Regions from separate parts of the Homo sapiens genome. Here region 2 is linked to region 1. Evidence: promoter capture Hi-C in 16 types of primary human blood cells and fetal thymus (Javierre and others, 2016). All regions are on one chromosome and are shown on one strand. Each heading gives the region's core, a stretch centred on a gene start or on the middle of the fragment in contact. The rest is flanking DNA. Distances are from core to core; before and after follow the strand shown.

Evidence for each region. Contacts are between HindIII fragments. The CHiCAGO score rates a contact against its expected background, and 5 or more counts as called.
Region 2: a fragment that was not itself captured here is called in contact with the fragment with the promoter of TMEM177 in region 1 in 9 of 17 cell types (total B cells, total CD8 T cells, non-activated CD4 T cells and 6 more); the score reaches 11.4 in total B cells.

What each region holds. Positions count from the first base shown.
Region 1 is chr2:119,675,552-119,681,296 of GRCh38, forward strand. It overlaps TMEM177 (transmembrane protein 177), which reads left to right and starts at 3,650. Exons shown (of 2, transcript NM_030577.3): 1 at 3,650-3,725; 2 at 5,281-5,745. The coding sequence starts at 5,303. RefSeq lists a silencer at 3,497-3,726. The HindIII fragment of the contact is 6,463 bases long and covers 1-5,745 here.
Region 2 is chr2:120,315,453-120,321,197 of GRCh38, forward strand. LOC105373584 (a long non-coding RNA gene) reads right to left here and starts at 3,889. Exons shown (of 3, transcript XR_923260.3): 1 at 3,620-3,889; 2 at 3,067-3,214; 3 at 1,851-2,186. The HindIII fragment of the contact is 608 bases long and covers 2,968-3,575 here.

The DNA.
Region 1 (5,745 bases), core at 2,400-4,899:
TGGCACAGGGTAGGAGCTGAATGAATAAGTGTAAGAACACATAAGTGGGAGCATTTCAGATATTCAGAAAGCGATGAAGGAGGAGCTGTTGGAGATGGTTGTACCTGCAAGCACGGGATGCAGATGACCACACACTCTGACTGGGAAGCCCAGCTTCAGGCAAAACACCTGCCTACCCCATGGGTTCTCACTCCTGACTCCTGAAAAATAACTCTCCCAGGTGCTTCAGTTGAACGGTTGATAAATGTTCTATCAGCTCTGCGGTAGGATTGGCCAACCTACATATATATGCATTTTTTAAATTGAGATTAAATGCACATTACTTAAAATTTACCATTTTAACCATTGTAAAGGGTAAAAATTTACGGGTTTTAGTCTATTCACCATGTTGTGCAACCATCACTACTATCTAATACACAAACATTTCATCACTGCAAAAAGAAGCCCCGTACCTGTTAGCAGTCACTCCCATTTACCCCCTCCCTCATCCCTTAGCAACCACTAACCTGCTCTCTGTCTCAGTGGATTTGCCTATTCCGGACATTTTATATAAATGGAATGATACAGTCTTTGTCCTTTTGTGTCTAGCGTCTTTCACTTAGCATAATGTTTGTAAGGTCATCCATGTTGTAGCATGGCTCAGTATTTATTCTTTTTTATGACTAACTAATATTCCGTTGCATGAACTATGCCATAATTTGTTTATCCATTCATCAGTTGATGAACATTTTGATTTCTACATTTTCACTAGTGTAAATAGCATTGCTATGAACATTTAGGTACAAGTATTTGTTTGAGTGCCTGTTTTCAATTATTTTGGGTATATTTCTAGGAGTGGATAGCTGATTCATATGGTAATTCTAAGTTTAACTTTTTAAAAAAATTACTATTTTTTTTTAGAAAACAGGGTCTCACTATGTTCCCCAGGCTGGCCTCGAACTCTTGGCCTCAAGCAATCCACCTCGGCCTTCTAAGTAGCTGGGACTACAGGCACAAGCCACTGAGCCTAGCTTAGCTTAAGGTTAACTTTTTGAGGAAGCTCTAAACTGTTTTCTACAGTGGCTGCACCATTTTACATTCCCACCAGCAATGTATGAGGGTTTCAGTTTCTCCACATCCTCTCCAACATATATTATTTTCTAGGTTTTCTTTTTCCTTATAGAAATCCAGTGGTTGTGAATAATATCTCATTGTGGTGATTTGCATTTCCCTAGCCGCTCTGTGATCAGCCCTAGTGACTGATACTAGTGAGCACATTTTTATATGCTTTTTGGCATATATTTGTATATATTTTTTGAGAAATGTCTACTCAAGTCATTTGCCCATTTATTAATTGGCTTGTTGAGTTGCTAAGAGTTCTTTATATATTCTGGATACTACACCCTTATCAGATCTATGATTTGTAAATATTTTCTCCTATTGTGGATTGTCTTTCCACTTTTCTTGATAGTATTTTTCATGCACAAAAGTTTTTCATTTTGATGGAGTCCAACTGGCCAGCCTACTTTAAAAAATTTTTTTAAACTTTTTATTATGGAAATTTCCAAACACACACAAAAGTAGAGCATGGTATGATGAAGATCCCTGAACCTGTCATGCAGCTTCACAATAACTAACACTTTGTCAATGTTGTTTCATCTGTGCCCCTGTTTTTTTGTTGTTGTTGTTGTTTGGATTTGGTTTCGTTGGAATATTTTGAATCAAATAGTAGACATTGTGTCATTTCACCTGTAAACACTTCAGTATGCATCTCTAGTAAGAATTTTTTGGTTTATATAAACTCCATGTCATCATCCCATCTGATGAAATAAGCAATAATTCATTAATATCATCTAATATTCAAATCCAAATTCAAATTTCTCCAAGATGCCTTTTGTTTGTTTGTTTGTTCCTTTGTTTGTTTGAGACAGAGTCTCACTTAGCCACCCAGGCTGGAGTGCAGTGGCACAATCTCGGCTTACTGCAACCACCATCTCCCAGGTTTTAGCGATTCTCCCGTCTCAGCCTCCTGAATAGCTAGGATTATAGGCGTGTGCCACCATGCCTGGCTAATTTTTGTATTTTAGTAGAGACGGAGTTTCACCATGTTGGCCAGGCTGGTCTTGAACTCCTGACCTCAGGTGATCTGCCCTCCTTGGCCTCCCAAAGTGCCAGGATTACAGGCGTAAGCCACCGCGCCCAGCCCAAGGTGTCTTTTTTACAGTTAGTTTATTTGGTTCAGGATCCCAATAAAAGTCACATATTGCATTTAACTGCAATGACTCTCAAGTCTCTTTTCTTTTGAGTCCCCCTCCTTCCCTGTTTATGCCATTGATTTGTTGGATAAACCACGTCATTTGCCCTGTAGAATGTCCCACATTCTGGCTTTGGCTGAGGTCACATTGCACTATTTACATACAAACAACTGAGCAGCCAAAATTGGGGGGGGGGGCTCAGAAACAGAACAGACTTTAATAATAATAGCTAATGGCTAGGCGGCACAAACCGTGAGGCACAGGTTACATATACACCAACTCATTTTATCACACAGCTAGTAAGGGGTGGAGCCCGGCTTTAACCCTAGGCAGTCTGTTTTCACCCTCTGTAAAGGATTGGGCATGGCTGTGTTCCAAGAAAACTTTATTTACAAAAGCAGGTGGAGAGCTGGATTTGGTGCACAGATTAGATGATCCCTCATCTACCTCACAGAGCAGCTGGAAAGGAGAAATGACAGATGGCACGCTGCTCTGTGGACTGTACAGTGTGAAGCACCTGGGAGGAGCTTGGGGGGCAGCGAACATGGTAATAAACATAAAGCTCAGAGCTCCCCGCCAAGGGTGAGCGCTTCCAGACGGAGAAGTACACGGGCCGGCCAGTCAGATGGGCATGGGTTCTGATGGGGGCCCTGCCATAGGCCGCCTGGTGACCCACGCGGGGCTGCCGTTCCTTCGGGGGTTCAACGGCATGATCAAAGACACCGGGATGTGTGTGTGTGTGTGTGTGTGTGTGTGTGATGATCAAAGACACCGGGGTGGGTGTGTGTGTGTGTGTGTGTCATGATCAAAGACACCAGGGTATGTGTGTGTGTGTGTGTGTGTGTGGCATGATCAAAGACACCGGGGTGTGTGTGTGTGTGTGTGTGGCATGATCAAAGACACCGGGGTGTGTGTGTGTGTGTGTGTGTGTGACGGAGTCTCGCTCTGTCGCCCAGGTTGGAGTGCAGTGGCGTATTCTCGGCTCACTGCAACCTCTGCCTCCCAGGTTCAAGCGATTCTCCTGCCTCAGCCTCCCCAGCAGCTGGGGACTACAGGCGTGCGCCACCACGCCCAGCTAATTTTTGTATTAATCAAAGACGCATTTCAACGCAGAGGAGGAAGTGCTAGCGGACCCACCCCAAGGTGCACAGTTAGAGAAGGAGCCTCTGCGGCGGCCGGAGCCCCCCACGGACATCCCCTTGAGGCCCCCCCAGCCACACCCCCAAGAGTCCCGCCCCCAGACCCGTCGAGCGAGCTCCCCTCCCTGAAATCCTCGCCCCGAGATCTCCGGCCGGCGAGCTCCGCCCCCTGAAGTCCCCATCCCAAGATCCGGGGCCGGCGAGCTCCGCCTCCCGAAGTCCCCGCCCCCAGATCCCCGGCCGGCGTGCTTTGCGGCCGCCCTGCCGCGCGCACATGTAGGCGTTCCGAGCGGCGGCGGAGGTGAGCGCACGGACGAGCGGGAGGGACCCTTCTCCGGCCTGATGCGACCCGGTAACGCGTTCAGACTGCGGAGTAGCCTAGGGGCCCAGAGTGGAAGCGTAGCGAGGACCCCTCTGCGGGGCTCCTGCAGCCCCTCCTCCCCCAGCCACCGGCGGGCTGCATGGTACTGTGTTCTAGGCCCACCCCGCAGCGCGATGGCCCTAGGGACGTTGGACTTTGGTCCAGACCTTTCCTTTCTTAGCCTCACTTTCCGCATTGGGAAAAAAAAAAAGCCCGAATGATAATGATTCTTATAGGAGTTCTTGATTAAGATAGGCCAAGCGGTACCCTGCGTTTTTGTTTGCGGCAACTCATTCGTTGCTCATTAAGCACTTTTCACGGACAGGAATACAGTAAGTTTCAATCAAAGTGAAATAATTGTGAATTTTTACTGACGTATTCACGGATGAAGTGATAGGATGCCCGGGGATGTTTCAAAATAAACCAGTTGGACGGAAGTGTGGTGGAAAGAGAAATCAAACAAGATTGGCCATGAGTTGATGGGATTGAAGTTGATGGATGTACTATTTTGTCTACTTTGGTATATGCTTGTAATTTGGCATAACAAGTTTTCTAAAACAAAAAGTTTGCTGTGGACACCTGACTATGCCTGTGTTAGCTTGCTAGAGCTGCCATGCCGAAGTACCGGAGACTGGGTGGCCCAACCAGCAGAAATTTGTCCTCTGGGAGTTATGGAGGCTGGAAGTTCAAGACCAGGGTGTTAACAGGGTTGGTGTCTTCTGAGACCTCCCTTCTTGGCTTGTAGGTGGTAGCCTTTTCCCTGGATCCTCACATGATCTTCCTGCTGTGCCTGTTTGCATCCTAATCTCTTCTTATAAGTACACCAGTCAAATTGGATTAGGATCCATACTGATGGCCTCATTTTATCTTAATTATCTCCTTAAAGACCCTGTCTCCAAATACAGCCACAGTCTGAGGTACTGGGGGTTAGGACTTAAATATATGAACTGGGGAGGAGGAGGAGACACAGTGCAGCCCATAACACTGTCACTTCACTAGCTTAGGATTTTGGCCATTTAAGTTTTCACAGCTTTGAAATAGGGTTAGCTGTAGTAATTAGGTCATGGGGTTGTGAGGGTTCAATCGGTAAGAGTGCTCAGAACTGAGTCTAGCATATAGTAAGCACTCAATAAATTGAACACGTTTTTCCTTATAAATTAGTAATCATAGGGCTTTACCATGGGATGAGTGGAATGAGGCAGTTGGAGTGCCGTGCCCAGCGATGGGAATAAAAGTCATTACAGCCATTATTATAAGGAATATCTGCTGCTGTGCCAGACACTAAATGTTTTATGTATGTTTATTCATGTGCTCATCACCGCCACCCTAGAGGTGGGCCATTACGACACACCTGTTTGGCACATGGGGAAATTGACGCACAGAGACGGAGCTGGGATTTGAACACAGGCACTCTGGCTCTAGAGCCCACACTCTTCACCACTATGCTGTGTTACTTTGGTTTAAAAAGGTGGTGTGGACCCTGGAGGATGTTCAGTCTGCAGGCTGACCCAGGGAAACTGGCTGACTTCTCTTTTTCTTGGCCCAGATTGTCCGCAGTGACTACACTCATGGCAGGTCCCCTGTGGCGGACCGCAGCATTTGTGCAGAGACACAGGACAGGCCTCTTGGTGGGTTCCTGTGCAGGCCTGTTTGGAGTTCCAATCTCGTACCACCTCTTCCCGGATCCCGTGGTCCAATGGCTCTACCAGTACTGGCCTCAGGGCCAGCCAGCTCCGCTCCCTCCACAGCTGCAGAGCCTCTTCCAAGAGGTGCTACAGGACATAGGTGTTCCTTCAGGCCATTGCTACAAGCCCTTCACCACCTTCACCTTCCAACCTGTGAGTGCAGGCTTCCCAAGACTCCCTGCTGGGGCTGTGGTGGGCATCCCTGCCAGTTTCTTGGGAGACCTAGTGATCAACACTAACCATCCCGTGGTCATACATGGGCATACAGTGGACTGGCGGAGCCCAGCAGGCGCCCGGCTGAGAGCTTCCCTGACCTTGTCCCGTGA
Region 2 (5,745 bases), core at 2,022-4,521, 640 kb after region 1:
CTCTAATACCAGTGTGAGCTCGCTGCTGCACAGGCCTGGCCATGTCACTCCTCAGCTGACAATCCCTGGAGGGTGGGGGACACCACCGTGACCACACAGCCATTGACGAGTGGGTGTGAGGCTGGGGGGCTGCCAGCCCCTTCTGCAGAGGGCACCTCCTCTGTGTCCCTGGCTGCCATCCGCAGAACATCATTTTGTCTGTGCTCCCGGCTGTCATCTGCACACGCTGTGGTCCCATCGTGTGCCTGTTGCCCTTTTCTGCGTGTTCAGCACTGTGCCTTTGGCCCTGGCTGCACCCTTCCCCACCCTGCCGCCACAGCACACAGCACACTTCCCCCAACTGTGCCCTTCTGCTTCTCCAGGCAAAGCCAGACACTGGTTCCCACCCCGGCACAGTGCTGAAATGCCCGCAGCAGCACTGTGGCCCTTGTAACATGATGGTCAACTCCAGCTCACTCCCCTCCCTGAGTTCCTGGGCAGCCCATGCCTTTTTGCTCAGTGAATGATAATGGAATGGCGCAGAAGCAAGCACAGAGGCAGGAGCAGGGACAGAAATAGCAGCGATGTGAGTAACAGCCTTTTGCATCCTCACAGTGGCCTTGGCCCTGGCTGGTGCTGTCGTCATTTTAGAGGTAAGGAAACTGAGGCCCTGTGAGGTGGGCTGACTTGTTTGAGTTCCCACAGCTGCTGTGTGGCCCCAAAACCTCTGCTTGGAACATTCTGCAGAAAGTGGAGACAGGGCCTGACTGTGCTGGGGTGGGGGCCTGGCAAGGGCCGGAGGGGTGGCCTGAATGCCAGGGCCCAGGAAACCGGCTGGTGAGGAAGCCTCTGAGAGCTGCTGCTGGCTGAGCAGATGTGCAGGGCTGCGAGTGAGCGCAGAGGAGGGCTGCTCTGGCTGGGAGACAGGGCAGGGTGGCCAGAGCCAGGGAGGGTATCCAGATGGATTTCAGAAGCACACCTGGAGGTTTGGAGGGACTTGGAGGTGACTTAATGTAAGGTGGGGAAGGAGAAAGAGGCCTCGGGACATGGGAAGGAGAAAGAGGCCTCGGGACGTCTGGTGCTTCTGACTTGGGGGACCGGGTGGTGGAGTCCCCCTAACAGACATTGGGAAACAGGAGAGATCAGTCCTGCTGGGGTGGTGTGGGGAAGGGAGGAGCCAGCTGTGAGGGGACCACTGTTTTCCTGATGGAGGGATCCGACAGCAGCCGGAGCTGCAGTTGGTGGCAAGTCCCTGGCATGGTACAGCAAGGGCAGTAGGAAAGCTGCAGAGGGGTGGGGTTTGCCGGGCAGGGGTGGGGTTTGTGGGTCACGCAGGTCCCAAGGAGCCCAAGCTCAAGGTCCGCGCCTGCCTGCTCTCCCCACTCACCCTTGCCCATGGGAGCGCTGTCCTTTTCTCTGAAAAAGCCTAAACGCGTTGGCCTTCCTCTTTAGCGAAGTCTTTCCTGCCTCAGCTGAGTCTGTGAGGGGCAGCCCAGCGTCCCCTCTGTGCCAGCTGTCTTCTCCCTGTTCTTGGCCCACCCTTTCTGGGCACAGGCCTCAGCTCCCTCCCCATTCCTAAGCCCCGCTTTCTGTATCTCCACAGAGGCCTTCCTCGGCCCTCCCAGCCTGATGCAGGGCTGCCTTGGTTCCTACTGCCAAGAACCTGCGCTTTGCCACCAGCTCCTCCCCACTCACCAAGGGAAGCAGGTGGGAAGCACCCTCCTTTCTCCTTCTGTAAACCTGGGTTGGCAAACCTTTTCTGTAAAGACCAGATGGCAAATAATTTTGGTGTCACAGGCCCCACTGTCTCTGTTGCAACAGCTCAAAGTGAGAAAGCAGCCCCAGATGATATGTAAAGGAACAAGTGTGACTGTTTCAATAAAACTTTATTTAGAAAAACAAGGGGTGGGCCAGCTTTGGCCCACAGGTTGTAGTTTAATGGCTCTGCTCTAAACCAGTCCTCATCCTCCTGCTGGATAACAACCAAACTTTCTAGAACCAACAGGGCTGGGGGTTGGAAGCAGCAGGTGGAGGTGGGGTGTTGGGGAAGGAAGTGGGAGGGGAGGCCTCCACAGAGAGATGGAGAGCTGTCTGCCCAGTCCTTCTTCTCTTCTCTGGGAGAACCGGGCACGGTGCCCCCTCCAGGTTTAGTTGCCCATGACGCAGAGCCCCATTAGTTCCACATCAGGCCTCCGCTTGCCTATGAACTGAAAATCAGTTTCTCTGGCTCCATGATTCCTGCCCCCTTCCCCTCATATATATATATATACTAGGGAGGCTGCCTCAGCCTCCCCAGTAGCTGGGATTACAGGTTCCCACCACCACGCCCAGCTAATTTTTGTATTTTTAGTAGAGACGGGGTTTCACCACGTTGGCCAGGCTGGTCTTGAACTCCTGACCTCAGGTGATCCGCGCACCTCAGCCTCCCAAAGTGCTGGGATTACAGGCATGAGCCACCGCGCCTGGCTCCCCTTCCCTTCATATTAGTTAAACAAAGCATGAGACAGGAGGTCCCTCATCCTCTTCCTGCACTGGAAAATTAGTCTTCAGTTACCACAGCGGTCTGGAAAGACTTGAATGAACTCCACAGTTTAGTTGTCAGGTGGGGAGTGTCCCTGTGTGTGGGCGCTGGTGGTTCCAAGGTAACTGTCTCCGGCCCCTGTCCCCAGGTGTGCAGTGGAGGTCAAGGCCTGGAGTCCCTCCTTTCCTGGAACTTTGAGCCCCAAACCTGGTGACCCCACGAGCACCTCGCACTTCTTCACTTTTCCTCGGTTTTACATCACATGTGTGTAGCCCCTGTTCTTTCTTCTCTAGGCTACAACTGTACCCGCTGCCACCAAGCTAGACCCTCGGAGGTGACCACTTCCTCTGGGGGTAAAGGGCCCCTCCCAACCCATCACCAAAAAAACTTCCCCATTTACCCCAAGTCTCTCCCCAGTTTACCCTAACATGCGAGTTGAAGTTTTCCCTCCTGTGCGGTGGAGGTAAAGCTTATTTCCCGCTGGCCCTGTGGAAAATGCAGGGAGCAGGGACCATTCCCGAAATCCCCACTCAGCACCAACCACGGAAGGAGCAGCACACACTTACTTCTCTGTGCAGTTGGAAGATGCAAAATGGAAGCTCAGTGTTCGATGGTTCATCCAAGGAGAGGTACAGGGATGGGATTTGAGTCCAGGTCCGGGTGACCCGGGTCCTCTCAGAGGCCTGTCTTCTGGGGTTCCACAGCCTTGCCCCTCTGGAACAGAGAACAGGATGCAGGGGTGGGGGCAGATAAAGCGTTCTGTGCAAGAGACAGGCTTGACAGGCCTGGGGGCGGTCTGCTGAAAGGGACCCCTGGAGCAGCCCAGGGCCGACTGGAGGCCCTTGGGGATGGGGAGGACGTTCACTACCAGAGGGAGAGGCAAGGTGGGGAGGCCGCAGGCCCCTTCTCGGCCCCTCTGTCTGCTGTATCTCCACCCTCTCTCCCTGTGACCAGGCCTGGAAGGGATGGGCTCTGGGCCAAGCCCTGCTCTTGGCACAAACTCTCCACCCCACCCTGGAGGCGCTTGTTAGTGCTTTGCTTAAAAGTAGGCTGAGAAGTCCGAGCAAAGATGGGAAGCTTTGTTTTCAAATATAATGGGAAGGGTGTGTGGAAACAGACCTGGCAAAACAAAGGCAGATTGATGTTTCTGTTTGTGATACCAGTGGAGAGAGGAGGGCACAAGCAGGTATGTTGGGGGCTATGGAGGCCAGGGCATTTGTTTTTTTAAGAGGGGGAGAGGGGAGTGTCTGCAGGAGCCGTTCAAGCGTCTACACCGGCTCTGCTGTGAGGGTGGCTCCTGCCGCACAGCTGTGGGCCTGCGCTTCGCCTCCTCAGAGCCGGGAGGCCAGGAATGGTCCTGCTCACATCTGTATTCCAGCCCTGGAGACTGGGCGTGGCAGGCAGAAGGTGCTGTATTGGAATGCGTAGGGCAGCAGAGGAGAATGGAACAGGTTCTGAACCATGGCGATGACCTCTTGGTTCTCAGGGGAGTCACCCTGGTGTCTGGCCCTGGCATGTCAGCCCTTTACCTACATTATCACTCCACTGGGGCCCACACAACTCCTCCAGGTGGGCCCTATTTATTATTTTCAATTTATAGACAAAGAAACAGAGCCACAGAAAACTAAGTCGCCCAGAGTCGCAGAGGCAGCACAAGGTGAAGCTGGCTGGTGTCTGTCTGAGCGTTGGGCACTGGGTGCGTGACCACACAGCCCAGGTGGACCCCCACCTCCTCTGGCCTGTGATCTCCTCAGTGCTCAGCAAATGATCATCAAATTTGGTAACACCAGCAGGACCAGAAGCGATTCCTACAGCCTTTATTGATCCCATAATAAAGAGGTGTTCGTGTTTCAGACCAATGTGAGTGCTTCCGAGCAGGTCTGTGGAGTTCAAAGCCGACAGGATGTTTAGCCATTTCCTGCACTTCCCTGCCCTGTCATTTACAGCCTCATTAGAGCCCCTGGCTTGCCAAAACACCTCTGTCTGATGCCGCAGCTCTGACGGAACGCCTCGATTTTCCCTTTGCGAGCTTTTGCTTGGGCTGCAGGAGTAGTGGGCGGTGGATGTTTTTGGTGGAACTTTGTGGGCCAACATCAGACACGGCCAAAATGTGGCAGAAAGGGAGGGGCGTGTCGGGGAGGTGTCTCTAGAATCTCAGCTTTTCTGTTCCGGGGCAATGCTGCCTGCACCGCAAACGCTGTATGCTAGAAGCCATCAGGCCTGGGTCCTTGTGGGGTAGTAGTTGTTCACTCCAAGTAACTGAAGGAGAAGGGTTAGGCTTTGGGGCAAATAGGGAATGAATGAGCTTCTGTTCTCTAACCTGACCACATGAGTTGGAGGCTTTGCGCCCGTAAACACACCTTGTGCAGGTAGACGCCTGTCTGCTCACCACACTCGCATGGGAGAGATGCCCTTCTCATGCCCTGGCATCGCTGGATCTTTGCTGCTCGAAGGACACTGCAACTTTGAAGCAGCTCCCCAGTTGCTTCCAGCAGGGATGAAACGAGCCATCAGCAGAGCCTGCACCTTTACCACACCTTGGCAAGGCCCCTGGGAAGGCAGGTCACCATTGAGCAACACCCAGACAGAGTCTAGCATTCATTTCCAGATGCCTCTGGGGCTCAATTGTTTTCTTCCCCTCTCCCCACCCCTCTCTCCCTATAGTTAGATTTTGCAAGATCTGCACAACACGTGTGTGTGTTGATTTCCCTCTCCTAAGTCATTCCGATCTATCAGCCCAGTGTTTCTTTTGCTGTCTCCAACGCTGATGGTTTTCAACAGCTGTGTATAGGAAAGCTGCTGGATTAGAGCAACAGGCTATCAACAGCACTCACACGGCTTCCTCTGTGGGATGACAAGAACCTATGCTTTCTTCATGCGGGCAGGATGGCCAGCACAGCTTTCACAAACAGGCCTGGGAAACTTTGGGTTTTTTTTTTTTTTTTGACAGAGGATAATATCCTTGTTTGTGATAAATGGAAGGTTGGGAAACTTAGGGTACCTGTTGGGAAAGCCAATTCCTACAACCAGAGTCAAGGGAAAAATATCCTTGAGATATATAGATTTTCATAAGGGCCTCTTCTTCTTCTTCTTCCTTCTTCTCCCTTCTCCCTTCTTCTCCCTCCTCCTTCTCCCTCCTCCTTCTCCCTCCTCCTTCTCCCTCCTCCTCCTTCTCCCTCCTCCTTCTCCCTCCTCCTCCTTCTCCCTCCTCCTCCTCCTCCCTCCTCCTCCTCCTCCCTCCTCCT